Linked DNA regions of Homo sapiens: region 2 is linked to region 1. Evidence: promoter capture Hi-C in 16 types of primary human blood cells and fetal thymus (Javierre and others, 2016). All regions are on one chromosome and are shown on one strand. Each heading gives the region's core, a stretch centred on a gene start or on the middle of the fragment in contact. The rest is flanking DNA. Distances are from core to core; before and after follow the strand shown.

Region 1 (7,319 bases), core at 1,934-4,433:
TGTGCCTGTTGTCCCAGATACTCGGGAGGCTGAGGCAGGAGGATTGCTTCAGCTCAGGAGGTCCAGGCTGCGATAAGCCATGATTGCACCACTGCACTCCAGCCTGGGTAACAGAGTGAGACCCTGTCTCTTAAAACAAAAAATAAATAAATAAAAAGACAAGGAAAATGGCTCTACCTCCAACCAAGTACCAACTACTCCAATCAAAGTAACACTTACTTTATACAAGGTTTATTTTCTCGTAGAAAGGTCCTAGGACTGGCACACTCAATTCCATCTAAGGCATGGCACTGGACTGAAGTGTGTTCCACGTCGCTGTAGGCCTGACCGCCGAACTGTGGAATAACAACCAAGACCAAAACCAACTCACCAGAGCAAGTGACACAAACATCTATCTTTATATTCACTAATAACAGAATGAAAGCGGCCTCAGGACTACAATTATTCCAACAAGGTTGAGGTACAGCTGTGCTCAAGGGCAAGGAATTTAGTGACACACTTCTGAGTCCATCTTAAAGGTACACTGTCTTAAATAAACTCCTGCTTTCTTCTTCATGACTGGCTTCTTCAATAATATAGTAAAAAAAACCCCCAAACACACTCAGTGTCATTAAAGGCCATTTAGAAGAGATGAACACAATGCTTTACTTATCTTTACTTATAAGCATATGTATATGCTTATACATATTTATATGTATAAGCTTATACATATTTACAGGAAAAAGAGCATATAACTGAGCATTTGGGAGTGGGTATTTAAAAAGTCACTGCCTATTAGAGGTCTCTTTTATATCTATTAAAAATGAATAGAATTAGGAAAGAACTCAGGATATTATCTGACTCAGGACTTTATTTAGGTCATAAATGTGTATTACCTGATATCTGTGGGACACCTGTTAAGTTTAAATTCCAGCCAAAAATTTCAGAACTGGGCCTCTTACCATTGCTTAACTGAATTCTAGCCAAGAAATCACAGATATTCATTTTTTACTGGTACCTTATATCAGTGCTTATTACTATTTTCATTGGCGAGTTCCTCAAAGGGAAGGGACTGGGAAATAAGAATGCTTACAGGATAAACTCAATTTTTAATTAAAATGGGCAAAAGTGATCTCTATACAATATTAACTCAAACTTTAATCAATAATTATCAACAGAGTAAAATTTCATTGTCTTAAATATTTATCTATACATGATTTCAGTAAGAGTTGCCCTTTTAGTCTTATTACTGTCAGGTTTATTCCTCTGTGTCTGATTTAGTACAAAACATGCCTTCCCATCATTCTCTTAACATCTGACCAAATCTTGACTTGCATTATGTGGCATAATAGGATGGCGAGTCCATGGTGGGGAGGAGATACATGAACTTCATTGGTTATTTTGAGAGATTGATTAGGAACTGTACACTCAGCTTTAGGGATATTACTAATAAACCTTAATAGCGTTTTTCCATTCCAAGAAGCCACTGTTAACCAATGGCTTCCGCTGGAACGCTTTAATGTCCTACAAAGACATATACCGGTAGACTCTATCTGTCTCCTACGGACATGGTGGAACCTGTTTGCCTGGAGAAAAGAAATGTCATTGGCAAGAAAAGCTCTGCCCCAAATGCATGTGTAACAAAGATACTGCCCAATCCATCACCAGTGTTGCAAAGTGCACAGACTTCCTTTTGCTCTTTCAGGAAAGGTTCATGCCTTGAAGGAGAGTCAGGGGTGACATTTTAGTTTCAAAATCTGTCAGTGGCCAAAGGAACCAAAGACAGGTTGGTCTTTGCACCTGGGTGGTTTTAGCACAGAGATTGCTCCTTCATAAGGAAACCAAATATCTTGTTCAGTCACTGACCCTGGCCATACTGGAAATTTCCAGTAACGGTCTTTCTGAGGAAATTCTTCAAAAAACTTTGTACCTCTTATACTTTTATGTAATAGCATTCAGACATTCCTATTTCGTTATCGAAGGGTTTGCTCTTACGACAAAACAAAAACTCACCTTGAGACAACCATAACCAAGTTCCTGGGATGCAGTTGCATTTCCAACATGATCCACTGGGTCTTCACATTCTATAAATTCATCAGGTCTGTAATTCACCAGTAAGATCATGATCATCATCATACGGTCTTTGCAAATCGCTGTTTGCATGCACGTAATCAAAACGGGCAAAAGACATTTCTTCATCAAGTTTTCTGGGGTTCGGTTTCACCCTGCTGACCCCTTTCCAAGCCAATTAAACTGAAGCACAGCAGGTCAAACGGACAGCCACCAAAATGAACCTTTTGTTGGAGAAGGGAGGTGTTTCTGGTCCTGTTTCTATAAGGATTCTACTTCTGCCATGGTTTCATCTCTTCAGTAGGCAAACAACAAGATTCTGGGGGCAAAATTTAAGCCAAAGTATTCTCAGTCCTCTTTGCATTTCCCAAATGCCTTTTCTTGTTTGATCAAAAAGAGATGTTAAAAAATGGCGTGATTCTGCAACGGTAAGAATATTGATTGCTTTTTTAAAAGATGCCTTGTAGGCAGAGACAAGTCATTTACTCCATTTATGCCTTACTCAGTACTGGCACCGAATCGACCGACTAATACTCTCCTTGGGCTAAAGGGCGCAGGGCAAAGAAAGCACAACCTTACGCCCTTCTTCCAGAGGCTATATGATGTTACTCCTACCCAGTTTTCCTCTTTGGGGATCTCAAAGCCTCTGTCACTGACACACAAGAGTTTTCTCTGCACGGGCTGTGAGAAACCTGGTTCATGATATTTGCCTCCGGAACGACCTCAGAGAGGCAGGGTCTGAAAAAATGCAGCGTCCCCCCAACCCTGCCTTCCCTTAACACCCATATATTCCTGGCACACCCTCCACGTCCACCCGCCTCGACCACTGGTAGCTTACAGGTAAGAGCAGAGGATGACCGGAGAGTGGGGGTCGCCATATTCCCAGCTCGCAGCACCCCCGGGGCCCTCCGGCTGGGCGGCGCCAGCGGATGTGAGCTCAGGCTCAGCGGTCGCATTTTGCGAGTGGCTCCGAGACACACAATGCAGCAGAAGTAAATTCCCCAGCAGCAAAGCCGCCTGGCCGCACAGAAGTAAGTAACTAACCGGGCAACCACCTAGCACCATCTTCCCGGGCACAGGAGCGGAGACCCGGCCTCAACCACAACCCCAGGCCAGCAGCACAGACCCAAGAACTGCGTGGTCAGGCCTTTCCGCGTAGCCCCGCCCGCGTAGCCCCGCCAAACAGCCAATGGACGCGCAGCTCGACGCTCCGCGCACCTCCGCCAACCAACTAGAAAAGGTCGAGCAGACGGGCGGGGCTACTCCGCCCTCTGCTTCTGCTTCTCGATTCCTCTTCTGGGTCTCATGCTCCTCCTTCTTTTGCGCCGAATGCGTTCTCCAATCGGATCCGTCGACCCCCCTAGGTGGGCGTGCCCGGCAGCCGACGGGGCGGGGCGGATATGACTGGCGGGCCGACTAGTGCTGGTTGCCACCGCCGGTTTAGAAATCCTATTCTCGCGCCGGGGACTGGATTTTTCCCTACGTCAGCGCAGCTAGGCGATGTCGGGAGCGAGCTCGGACCGAGGGCTCAGTTGCGTCAGTGCCGCGCGCGTGCTCGTCGGGCGCGCGTGCTCGTCGGGCGCGCGCGCTTCCCGGCCAGACTTGGGGCCCCGGCAGGGTTGGAAAATGATGGAAGAGGCGGAGGTGGAGGCGACCGAGTGCTGAGAGGAACCTGCGGAATCGGCCGAGATGGGGTCTGGCGCGCGCTTTCCCTCGGGGACCCTTCGTGTCCGGTGGTTGCTGTTGCTTGGCCTGGTGGGCCCAGTCCTCGGTGCGGCGCGGCCAGGTGGGTGTCCGCGCCCCGGGTCGGTTGGGACGGCTGCTTCCTAGGGACGGGGCGCTCGGAGTGAACCTGTGGTGCCTGGGAGTGGAGGGGCCCGGCCTGGGGATCGGACCCGGGGTCGGGGGGCGCGGCCGCTCCAGGTGTGTGCGGACCGGGGTCGCACCCGAGGCGCGGGGTTTGGCGCCCCAAGCCCTTCTTGGCCCGGGTCCTCTGCCCGGCACCGCTTCCTCCGTGTCCTGTTCGATGGAGCCGTTCCCAGCGTCCCCCCATCCCTCGCCGCCTCGCGCGACCCCGGGTCCCCCAGACGCCCCGAAACCCGCTCTGGGGCGGGCGCTGACCTCGGCGGGCCGGAGCCCTGCAGGCTGGGCGCGCCCGCGGGCGTTCAGTCCTCCAAACGCCTGCAGGGAGGGAGCTGGCTCTCGCTCGTGGAGTTAATGTCGCTTGGAAAGAGACTGAGAGATGAAACTTTTGCTGCAGGTTATAATTTGAAATTTTGACGTTCATGGTATCCTTGGGTCAACACAGCTAAATTTAATGGTGGAATAAAGGTGGGTGGGAGGACGCTCATTTCTCTTGGGTCATTTTTGTAGTAAGAATATTTTGTAAACGATGTGCTACCTTTCTATAGCCAAACCATTCTTAAAAAATCTGTGTTTTTATTGGGTTCGTACTGTGTTAAATCCGGACAGATAATCCCTGCTCTTTTGAACTCACAGGATTATTGTAGGAATTAAATCATTTGTGTGAAATCGTTTTTGAATTGTGAAACTGCCCTTGACTATGTAAGATACTTGTATTGGAGATGCCCAAACATAGTGGAAGCAGATTGTCAGCACGCTGGCGTCTTTCTGGAAACAAGTTGTTTATTTTGGATTTTGTATGATATAATTGTTTGCATGGCTGTATTTTCTCTATCAGCGACAGAGGATGATGGAGAATGGGAGTTTTTACTAAATCATTGATTGAAAGTTATTCAAAGGTGATGATAGAAGATTTCAACGCAGGACTGTTGACCTTCAGGAAACTAATTACTTGTTTTTCTTATCTTTGGCTGCTTTATTTGAAATTAAGTAAATTTGCCCCAGTGTGGAAATGTTGAAACTCTGACAATGTTTTGAATGGGAAGTTGCCAAATTTCTTCTGGTTAAAACTACTTTTCCGGTGGTATTCTAGATGGTTAACACTCACCGATGTTTAAGGTGAAGACGATTATACATCCGGAGTTTTATTAATCTGTGATTTTTTTTTGTGTTTGTAAATGTAAATAAGACTGTATTTTTAAATGTTAATATAAATTGTCAGTCATTACCGACCTGCATTAGGTGAGTGGAATATCCTGATGGTCTTTAACTGTGGTTTTGGCCAGCTCCTCACTTCGGCATGTGTATGCCCCTTCAAAGTTTAGCCACCGTTTATGGAACTCCTATAAACACCACACAGTTGATTGTAGAGGGGCAGAAGGTGACCAAATATGCTAAGCGCATCTGAGAGATGTTGGGGAAGATTTTTAGAGAAAATAATATTTGAACTGGGCTACATCGGTGATTTTTCAAGTAGAATAGTAGATACATTCTAAGCAGAGGAAAGTTTTTGCAAGAGTATGGTGGGGCGGGGGGCGTATGAAAGAACATGACTTTTTAGGAAATGATAAAAATGTCAATATGTCTTCATGCAGACTATAAAAGGGAGGGATGGAAGATCAAACTAAGGTAGGTTGTTACCAGTTGGGAAGAGTCTTCTATGCTGAACTAAGGGGTTTGGACTTCACCCCGTAGGAAGTTCTTTGGGCAGTGGAGGTTTTAAGTAGGGGTGCGACCTAATCTCATTTTCTGTTAAGAAAACGGGCAACACGGTGGAGGATAGAATCTAGGAGGGAGAGACTAGAGGCTGGGACACCGGTTAAGAGGCTTTTGTAATAGTGTGCAGTGAGTCAACTCTTGTTTCTCTCGGGGAACGTTCATACAAAATCAGCTGACCACATTTTTGCAGTATAAGGTGTTTAAAACGTGCACTGAAACATTTTCCAGGATCGAAAGAGGAATTTGAGGTACCAGGCACACGTCAGTTACATTAGGAGTTAATTAGGTTTTATAGGATTTTTACTACCTTTTATAACATTGTCTCAATGAGGAAATGCAGTATAATTTCCAAACAGCTAACTTTCAGTAAACTTTTTTTTTTTTTTTAAACTGACAAAGGTAACTGTGTCATTGTAAAAAATAAGCGGAATCAGGTATGAAACCTCTTCTGATTTTCTAAGGTAGTAATTATGAGGAACAGATTTAGAATTTTTTTTTAAACAAAGACTGGCATTCTAAAGAAAATGACTTTGAAAGCTTACTCATGGTGAGTCACTGTAAAATCATTTGTGTAGTAAGAACTTAGGTCCATACTAATCTCGTTTTCAGATGCCAGCAAAATATTTGAATTTGATATGTTTGTGTTTGTGCCGATAGGAGAATGTAGCCTTTTACATTTAAGAATGATTTGGTTTTCAACCTTTTAAGTAAAAAAGAAAGCATATATAATTAAAATATGTACAAACCTAGTTCCTGGTTTCCAAGACAGTTTTCAAAAAGCACTTGAAGCTTTAACTTACCAAATTTATATTTGCTCTTTGTAAAAAATCTGGGTTTATAATAGAATTTATTATGGAATCCCCCAAAAGATGCAAGCTCTAAGTAACTGGAAGCTTTTTCTTGGGAATATCCGCAAGCTCAAACATATGACATAGCCTCATATTTCTTTTTCCTTTTTGGTATGTAACATATACTGGAGGCTTGGAGTCATGCCATCCTTTTGAGTCAGCGCTATGGAACTGCCTCATAAATGAATGCAGTCCTTTTGTATCTCAGTAGCTAATCCCTCACAGTCTTTTTTTTTTTGAGATGGAGTCTTGCTGTGTCGCCCAGGCTGGAGTGCAGTGGCACGATCTCGGCCCACTGCAACCTTCACCTCCCGAGTTCAAGCAATTCTCCTGCCTCAGCCTTATGCCTGGCTAGTTTTTTGTATTTTTAGTAGAGATGGAGTTTCACGGTATTAGCCAGGATGGTCTCGACCTCCTGACCTCGTGATCCGCCCACCTCAGCCTCCCAAAGCGCTGAGACTACAGGCATGAGCCACCGCGCCCCAGCCTCTCTCACAGTCTTTGAATGGGTCTAATGTGGACCCAACTAAAGTTGGGTAGCACAATGTTGTTTGTATATTGAGAGATTATTGTAGTTTATTTTCCATTTCATGTTGTTATTTTAATCAGATTATTTTCCCTAAGTGATCATATGTGGGACACTGCTTGAGTCACATCTTTTTTTTTTCTTTCTGAGAGACAGGGTCTTGCTCTGTTGCCCAGGCTGGAGTGCAGTGGAACAGTCATAGATCACTGTAACCTCGAATTCCTGGGCTGAAGCAATCCTCCTGCCTAAGCCTCCTGAGTAGCTGGGACTGCAGGGGTGTGTCACCATGCTTGGCTAATTAAAAACTTTTTTTG
Region 2 (7,319 bases), core at 908-3,407, 1.1 Mb before region 1:
ATTTTTAGTAGAGACGGGGTTTCACCATGTTGGCCAGGCTGGTCTTGAACTCCTGACCTCAAGCGATCTGCCCGTCTCGGCCTCCCAAAGTCTGGGATTACAGGTGTGAGCCACCATCCCCATTTTAAATTCCTAATTACCATTCTCTTCTACTCTACCTCACACCAGCAATGCTGAAAATAGGAAAAGTGAAAAGCTGGGCTAGGCCACCAGGATAGTTTTCTTTTATTATTATTATTATTATTATTATTATTATTATTTTTTGAGACAGAGTCTCGCTCTGTCACCCAGGCCGGAGTGCTGTGGTGCGATCTCGGCTCACTGCAAGCTCCGCCTCCCGGGTTCACGCCATTCTCCTGCCTCAGCCTCCCGAGTAGCTGGGACTACAGGCACCCACCATCACGCCCGGCTAATTTTTTTGTATTTTTAGTAGAGATGGGGTTTCATCGTGTTAACCAGGATGGTCTCAATCTCCTGACCTCGTGATCCGCCCGCCTCGGCCTCCCAAAGTGCTGGGATTACAGGCATGAGCCACCGCGCCCGGCTCATTATTATTTTTTTGAGATGGAGTCTCACTCTGTCACCCAGGCTGGAGTGCAGTGGCGCGATCTCAGCTCACTGCAACCTCCACCTCCCAGGTTCAAGCGATTCTCCTGCCTCAGCCTGCCAAGTAGCTGGGACTACAGGTACATGCCACCATGCCCAGCTAATTTTTGTATTTTTAGTAGAGACGGGGTTTCGCTATGTTTGCCAGGCTGGTCTTGAACTCCTGACCTCAGGTGATCCACCTGCCTAGGCCTCCCAAAGTGCTGGGATTACAGGCGTGAGCCACAGCACCTGGCCTAGGATAGTTTTCTTTAAAGCCACTGTGTTGTAAAAGGTCAATTCTCACCTCGTTGCTGGCTGCGACTAACTTGTTCGTTTTCCCCTGTGCTTCGGGAATATGTTACCTCTGTAAGATAATAAACAACAAATAGTGTGCTTAGCCTTTATTCATCAGACCCCTGCCCTCCCACCACACAAAACCAGGACGCAAAATTCAAATCATTGAGCATCTGCTGCTGCACAGTTAAAGGCCCCATCTGGTTTTCTATGTCTACAAGAGGTTCCGAATACACAGAGACTGGGAAAGGTTAGGACTGCATTAAAGCAGCTCCAAGTGTTCCAAATTTCCAGTCATCCTTCCAGTACATTCCATACAGGCAATTTTCCTAGCAGCAGATTTTGTTGTTGTTTGTTTAAGGAGTTTCCCTCTATAGTCCAGGCTGGAGCACAGTGGTGCGATCACAGCTCACGGCAGCCTTCAACTTCCAGGCTCAAGCAATCCTCCTACCTCAGATTCCTGGGTAGCTGGGATTACAGGTGTATGCCACCATACCTGGCTAATTAAAAAAAAATTTTTTTAGGCACTTGTCTCGTTACGTTACCAAGGCTGGTCTCGAGATCCTGGGCTCAAGCAATCCTCTCGGCTCTGCCTCCCAAAGCACTGGGATTACAGGCGTAAGCCACCCCACCCAGACAATGGCTGCAGATTTTGAGGGCTGCACTGGTCAGAAACTTGGAAAGCAAAGAAAAGTGATGTTTTGCCAGTTTGTGCTTAAAACTATTTCAGGGTAATAATACCTGCTATAATCGTATCGGCAATCCTTCCACAATGACCAGACATGGCAAGATGAGTGGAACTTTTGTTTCTGTCTCACTTATTCAATATTTATTACACGCACCATCTATGCCCGATACTAAGTGCTGGGAAAACACAGATGAATGGCAGCCCCCATCTCCTTCAGCTCCCTCGCTCACTTTAGGTCATTTTCTCTCAAATTAAGTGTGTGCGTTACAGTTAGGAGTATGGGGGGAGCGGGGAGGCAAAAGGAATCTGATGTTAATCCCTCCACCGCCCCAGGCTGTCCCCAGGGCCACAAGTACCTCGGAGATTGCCCTCGTCGCTGAAGGTAGTGGTAAGGACCCCCTCGGTGACCACGCAGCCGCAGTCGGAGCACACCAGCTGGCTCTGCGAATAGTGCGAGTCTTCCACCAGCTCCGTGGAGCCGCAGTCCGGGCAGCGGCCTCTGCCTGGCATCTCACAACCGGCCCCAAAGCCGCGGAAGCCTTCAGAGACTCCTGGGTCTGCAACAGCAACCGTGAGGCAGCAAGAAGTAGGAGGGGACACTTCAAAGGGTTGCACCCCCGTCTTCCGGCCAGCGCGACGGAGGCATAGGCGGTTCCCTCCGCTGGGAGGCTGCGCGCCACTTCCGGTCTGTGCCTCCGCGGGCTCGGGTAGAAACGTGAGCTAGGAGAGGAGGTTCCTGGGCTGAACTGTAGCTGTCTGGTTTCCCTGCACTCTGTAGTTAGTTTTTGGGACCTAGACTGGGGTTGAATTTGGGAAAGTTTTTGCCTACATGGACACGTATAACAGACAGAAGATTGTTGTCACCCCTGAACAACCCTCCTTTTAAAGTCCTAAGGGAATCGCAGGTTGGTAATGAATGTTTAATTGGCCATAGAAGAAAGTATATTTTTTAAAGGGAGAGTAGTGGAGAGAGAGCGGGAGCAGGAAACTGTGTTCTGCTTTCCAGAGCTGCTTCCTAAAGCAGATTCCTTCCTCTCTTTACCTCCTGTTTTTCTCAACTGTAAAATGAGGAAGTTGAAAAAAAAATCCAGAGATGCAAACCCAAACGCTTTTGGAGGCCAGGCAGGAATGTCTAAAGGAGTTTGGAGTGAAAGAATATGGAGTGATGGAGACCTGGAGCGGCGCAAGCACGCAGATTCAGATGTTTTTTAAAAAACCTTGAGCTATCTGGGCGTGGTGGCTCACGCCTGTAATCCCAGCACTTTGGAAGGCCGAGGCAGGTGGATCACCTGAGCTCGGGAGTTTGAGACCAGCCTGGGCAACATGGTGAAATCCCGTCTCTACTAAAAATACACAAAAATTAGCTGGGCGTGGTGGTGCACGTCTCTAATCCCAGCTACTCAGGAGGCTGAGGCAGGAGAATCGCTTGAACCCAGGAGGCGCAGGAGGCGCAGTGAGCCAAGATCGCGCCACTGCACTCCAGCCTGGGTGGCAGAGCGAGACTCCATCTCAAACAAAATAAAACATACCTTTAAGAAGTGTCACTCCCTTCTTTTCCACACCCAGTTTTTACACGTGATATCCAAACCTAAAGACACCATCCCTTCCCTAAGAGACTGCTTTCTCAGAGTGTGAGAATCACTACTCCTTTTCAGAGACATCCCGTCCATTCCCATGGGGATCGCTCACATTGGAGGGCCAAGAGACACAATAATACCCAACGGTCCTTTCTCTTCAATTTGAATTACTTTAGTATCATAACAGAAGGGGGCTTCAGCACATTAATCGTGGGTGGGATCCGGCAGTCCAAGCCCCCCCGCCTTTTCTAGACCTCCCCACTAGCGTGAGATACAGGATGAGAGCTTATTTCTGGCTGTCTGACAGTTAAATATTAAGATACATTTGCACATGCGCACCCGCACACACACACCACTCAGAGACATCCATTAGTTTTAGTGTGGTTGACATTCTTATTTGGATGAAGAAAGTGTCCCTGAAAGCGACATAACTTGCACTGGGAACAGTTCCTTGCATGATCACACAGCAGAGCATCAGACTCCCCTCATCCCCAGTTGTGTGCAGATCTTGAACCTACCTTCACTTTTTTTTTAAGCGGGACTTTACAGAGCCCATCTACCTAGGACAGAAGCCTTGAAATCCTGCCTGACCCAACCTGATTGATTGTAAAGTGGAAAAGCAGTTTTATGATCCTGCAGCCAGCCACGGAAGGAGAAAGCTGGTTGTCTTTCCCAGTCACACATGATGTACTTACTGGGAGCCTAGGAGAGCCTGGTCCTCGGGCACACACAGGCTGGGAGGGGGCAGGGTCCAGGCCAGAAGATGGCGCCCTCTACTAAGATGTGTAAGTTTGGGGTTCTCCACTTTCTCAGGAAGAAGTCCATTTATTTGGGAAATGTATTTGCCTTGCTCCAGGAAATCTGGACAGACGTGGAAATCATCTTGGTGCCCTCTCCACTGCTCCCAGTTCTTCTAAGAGTTATCATTCCTGGTAGTGATTATCTTATTTTTTAATTTTATTTATTTATTTATTTTGAGAGGAGTCTCACTCTGTCGCCCAGGCTGAAGTGCAGTGGCACAGTCTCAGCTCACTGCAGCCTCCACTTCCCGGGTTCAAGCAATTCTTCTGCCTCAGCCTCCCAAGTAGCTAGGACCACACGCGCCCACCACCATGCCTGGCTAGTTTTTGTATTTTTAGTAGAGATGGGATTTCACCGTGTTGGCCAGGCTGGTCTCAAACTTCTGACCTCAGGTGATCTGCCCACCTCGGCCTCCCAAAGTGCTGGGATTACAGGCATGAGCCACCATGCCTGGCAGTGATTATCTTTTTAACAGATGCCCCGAGTGCCCAGGGTGGGCTTGGCCAGAGCAGAAAGCTAGTCATGGGGAGGCCATTGAACAGCAGCCCAGCTGTGGTCCAGATGTATAATGCTGACATTGAGGCCAGAGTTCTTTGTAGAGGGGAGAGTAGAGGAAGGCACTGAGGAAGAGGAGGATCTGGCACCTGAATGCAGTCCTCTTCCTCCCTCGATTGGCTGTGTACATTCTAGTTCGTTGTTTGACTTTCTCTTTGAATGGAAGTCTCTATGGGAACAAGCTGGCTTTCTCATCCTTGTGTCCCCAGGAGTACCTCCTAAAGTGAGGGCTGGCATTCAGTAAAGAGGAGTTCAACTCCCGTGAATTCCTGTCCTAGGTGGGCCTATCCAAAGCACCAAATGGGCCAGGCACGTGGCTCATGACTGTAACCCTAACACTTTGGGAGTCTGATGTGGGAAGACAGCTTGAGGCCAGGAGTTCGAGACTGTCCTGGGCAACATAGTGAGACCGCAGCCCCTCTCAAAACAAATAGCAGGGTATAGTGGTGTGCACTTGTAGTCCCAGCTACTTGGGAGGCTAAGGCAGGAGGATCACCTGAGCCCAGGAGTTAAAAGGTTGCCATGAGCTATGATTGCACCACTGCACTCCAGCCTGGGTAACAGAGTGAGACCCTGACTCAAAAAAAAAAAAAGGATGAAGAAGAAGGAGCACCACATAGACCCAGTTCCTCTGAAGCAGACCCATTTCCATCTAGAGCAAGTGACTGCTGAGAGTGGGCTGCTCTCCAGGCCTGCCTTCCAGCCTCAGCCCTGGGCTCCTCTCAGCTTAGCTGATGATGCTTTGCGACCCCGACCCAGTTTCACCGAGCCCTGAGTACAGCTCGCACGGTGGCACTGGGCCTGGCAGTTGCCTCAGATTTGGAGCCTTTCTGACTGGACTTCCTTCCCACCACTCTTTAGTGGGCACTTCCCGATGAGATAGCCTCAGGGCAGAGCATGGCCAGGGCTTCCCAAATCCCCGTGCCAAGCACCTTTCCTCACTCATATGCAGCTTCCCCTCTGCATAGTTTAGTCTGCCCCTCCCAGCCATTTCTCTCTGGGCTAAAGATTCACACGTTCAATTTCTTGAACTCCTAGGAACAAAGGCATCTGGTAACTCCAGGAAGGTGGTCACAGCACAGACCTGGTGCACTGCGTAGTCCAGGGCAACCTGACCTGGAACGCCTCTCTGCTGGGAGGCTGAGGCTCATCTGGCCTTATGGAAAGTCCTGAGAGAGGATTGAGTCATATGGCCTCCATTTTCCTTGCCCGCCCCAATCCTCCGCAATTCCAAGTAAATGATATAATGTTATATTCCTGCCCCTCAAAGCGATCCTAGCCTAGGGGTTGGCAAACTTATTCTTTTCTATTTTTTAAAAATATTTTTAATTAAAAAAATTTTTTTTTGTAGAAACAGGATCTCACTATGTTTCCCAGGCTGGTCTCAGACTCCTGGGCTCAGGCGATCCTCCTGCCTCCGCCTCCCAAAATGCTGGGTTTACAGGCATGGGCCACCACACCCAGCCATCAGACTTACCCGGCCATCATACCTTTTCTATAAAAGGCCAAATAGTAAATATTTTGGGTTTTTGGGACAATAGCTACTCTGTTGCAATTACTCAACTCAGCTGTTGTAATGTGAAAACAGCCATAGACAGTTACGTAAACAAACAAACGGTCATGGCTGTATCCAATAAAGCTTCATCTATGGGTGCTGAAATTCAATTTCATATGATTTTTTGTTTTGTTTTAAAACCAAAGTTTATTCCGGCCAACTTATCGTACTGGTATGATAACAGCTCATAGATCAGAAATGGTCTGTTTTAAACCTTCCTATCCATATTGAACACAATGATGTTGAGGTAAAAGGGGCCCTTTCTTCTTCTTCTTCTTCTTTTTTTTTTTTTTTTTTTTTGAGACAGGGTCTTGCTCTATTGCCCAGGTTGGAGTGCAGTGGTACCATCTCGGCTCACTGCAACCTCCATCTCCTGGGTTCGAGCAATTCTCATGCCTCAGCCTCTTGAGTAGCTGGGATTACAGGTGTGTGCCGCCACACCCAGCTAATTTTTGTATTTTTAGTGGAGACAGGGTTTCACCATCTTGGCCAGGCTGGTCTCGAACTTCTGACTTCAGGTGATCCACCCACCTCGGTCTCCCAAAGTGCTGGGCTTATAGGCATGAGCCACTGCACCCAGCTGAGAGACCCTTTCTCTAAATGAAAATACAATACTTATCCTATGTACTTCTGGAGGGTCCAGAGATGTGGAAGTCATGTATTCGTAAGAATCGTATTAAACAATCTTTATTTGAAAAATAGTACCAATAGTACCATACAATCCTAATGCTATCTAACTTTAATAAGAGCAATTTCAGCATCAACTAGTGAACAGTAGCTAAACTAACAGAAATCAGTCAGAAGTGCTTTAACAGGAGCAGCACTGGCTGACATTCTGCTGGGTCTCTAGGTATTCAGGACCCAGGGAAAACAGAATCAAACCGGCAGGGGTGAGAGCTGAGAGCCGAATGGTCACGTTAGAAAGGCAGCACCCCGGCCTCCAGCAATGAGCAGAGTGACTCAGCCTCCATCTCCCGTCCCTCAGGAGCACAGTGAGCTCCTGCCCAGGACCCATTTCTCGGCTTCCCTTCACCAGACTCCCACCAGATCCCCACCGGACGATGGTGGTGGCCTCTCTGGCCCTACCGGGGACTGGGAGCAGGGAGGGGAAGGGTGGCTGACGGGCATGAGGTGAGCAGGCAGCCTGTGGTCTCTGGGTGCAGCCTGGTCTGGCCAAGGCGCCTCCTCAGGGCCCGCCCCTGCCCTGGTACAGGCCTCTATATAATTTTCTTTCCCCTGACATGGAAGTTTCGTTGTGTCG

What was found. Contacts are between HindIII fragments. The CHiCAGO score rates a contact against its expected background, and 5 or more counts as called.
Region 2: the fragment with the promoter of BRF2 here is called in contact with the fragment with the promoter of TM2D2 in region 1 in 2 of 17 cell types (neutrophils and non-activated CD4 T cells); the score reaches 6.4 in neutrophils.

Annotation. Positions count from the first base shown.
Region 1 is chr8:38,993,326-39,000,644 of GRCh38, forward strand. It overlaps TM2D2 (TM2 domain containing 2), which reads right to left and starts at 3,184. Exons shown (of 4, transcript NM_078473.3): 1 at 2,888-3,184; 2 at 1,993-2,080; 3 at 220-335. The coding sequence starts at 3,114. It overlaps ADAM9 (ADAM metallopeptidase domain 9), which reads left to right and starts at 3,648. Exons shown (of 22, transcript NM_003816.3): 1 at 3,648-3,835. The coding sequence starts at 3,739. RefSeq lists enhancers at 2,312-2,834, 2,835-3,356, 2,965-3,154, 3,315-3,414, 3,475-3,524 and 1 more and a silencer at 3,855-4,284. The HindIII fragment of the contact is 5,467 bases long and covers 700-6,166 here.
Region 2 is chr8:37,847,704-37,855,022 of GRCh38, forward strand. It overlaps BRF2 (BRF2 general transcription factor IIIB subunit), which reads right to left and starts at 2,158. Exons shown (of 4, transcript NM_018310.4): 1 at 1,927-2,158; 2 at 893-952. The coding sequence starts at 2,080. RefSeq lists enhancers at 1,834-1,973, 2,014-2,363. The HindIII fragment of the contact is 8,285 bases long and covers 1-6,140 here.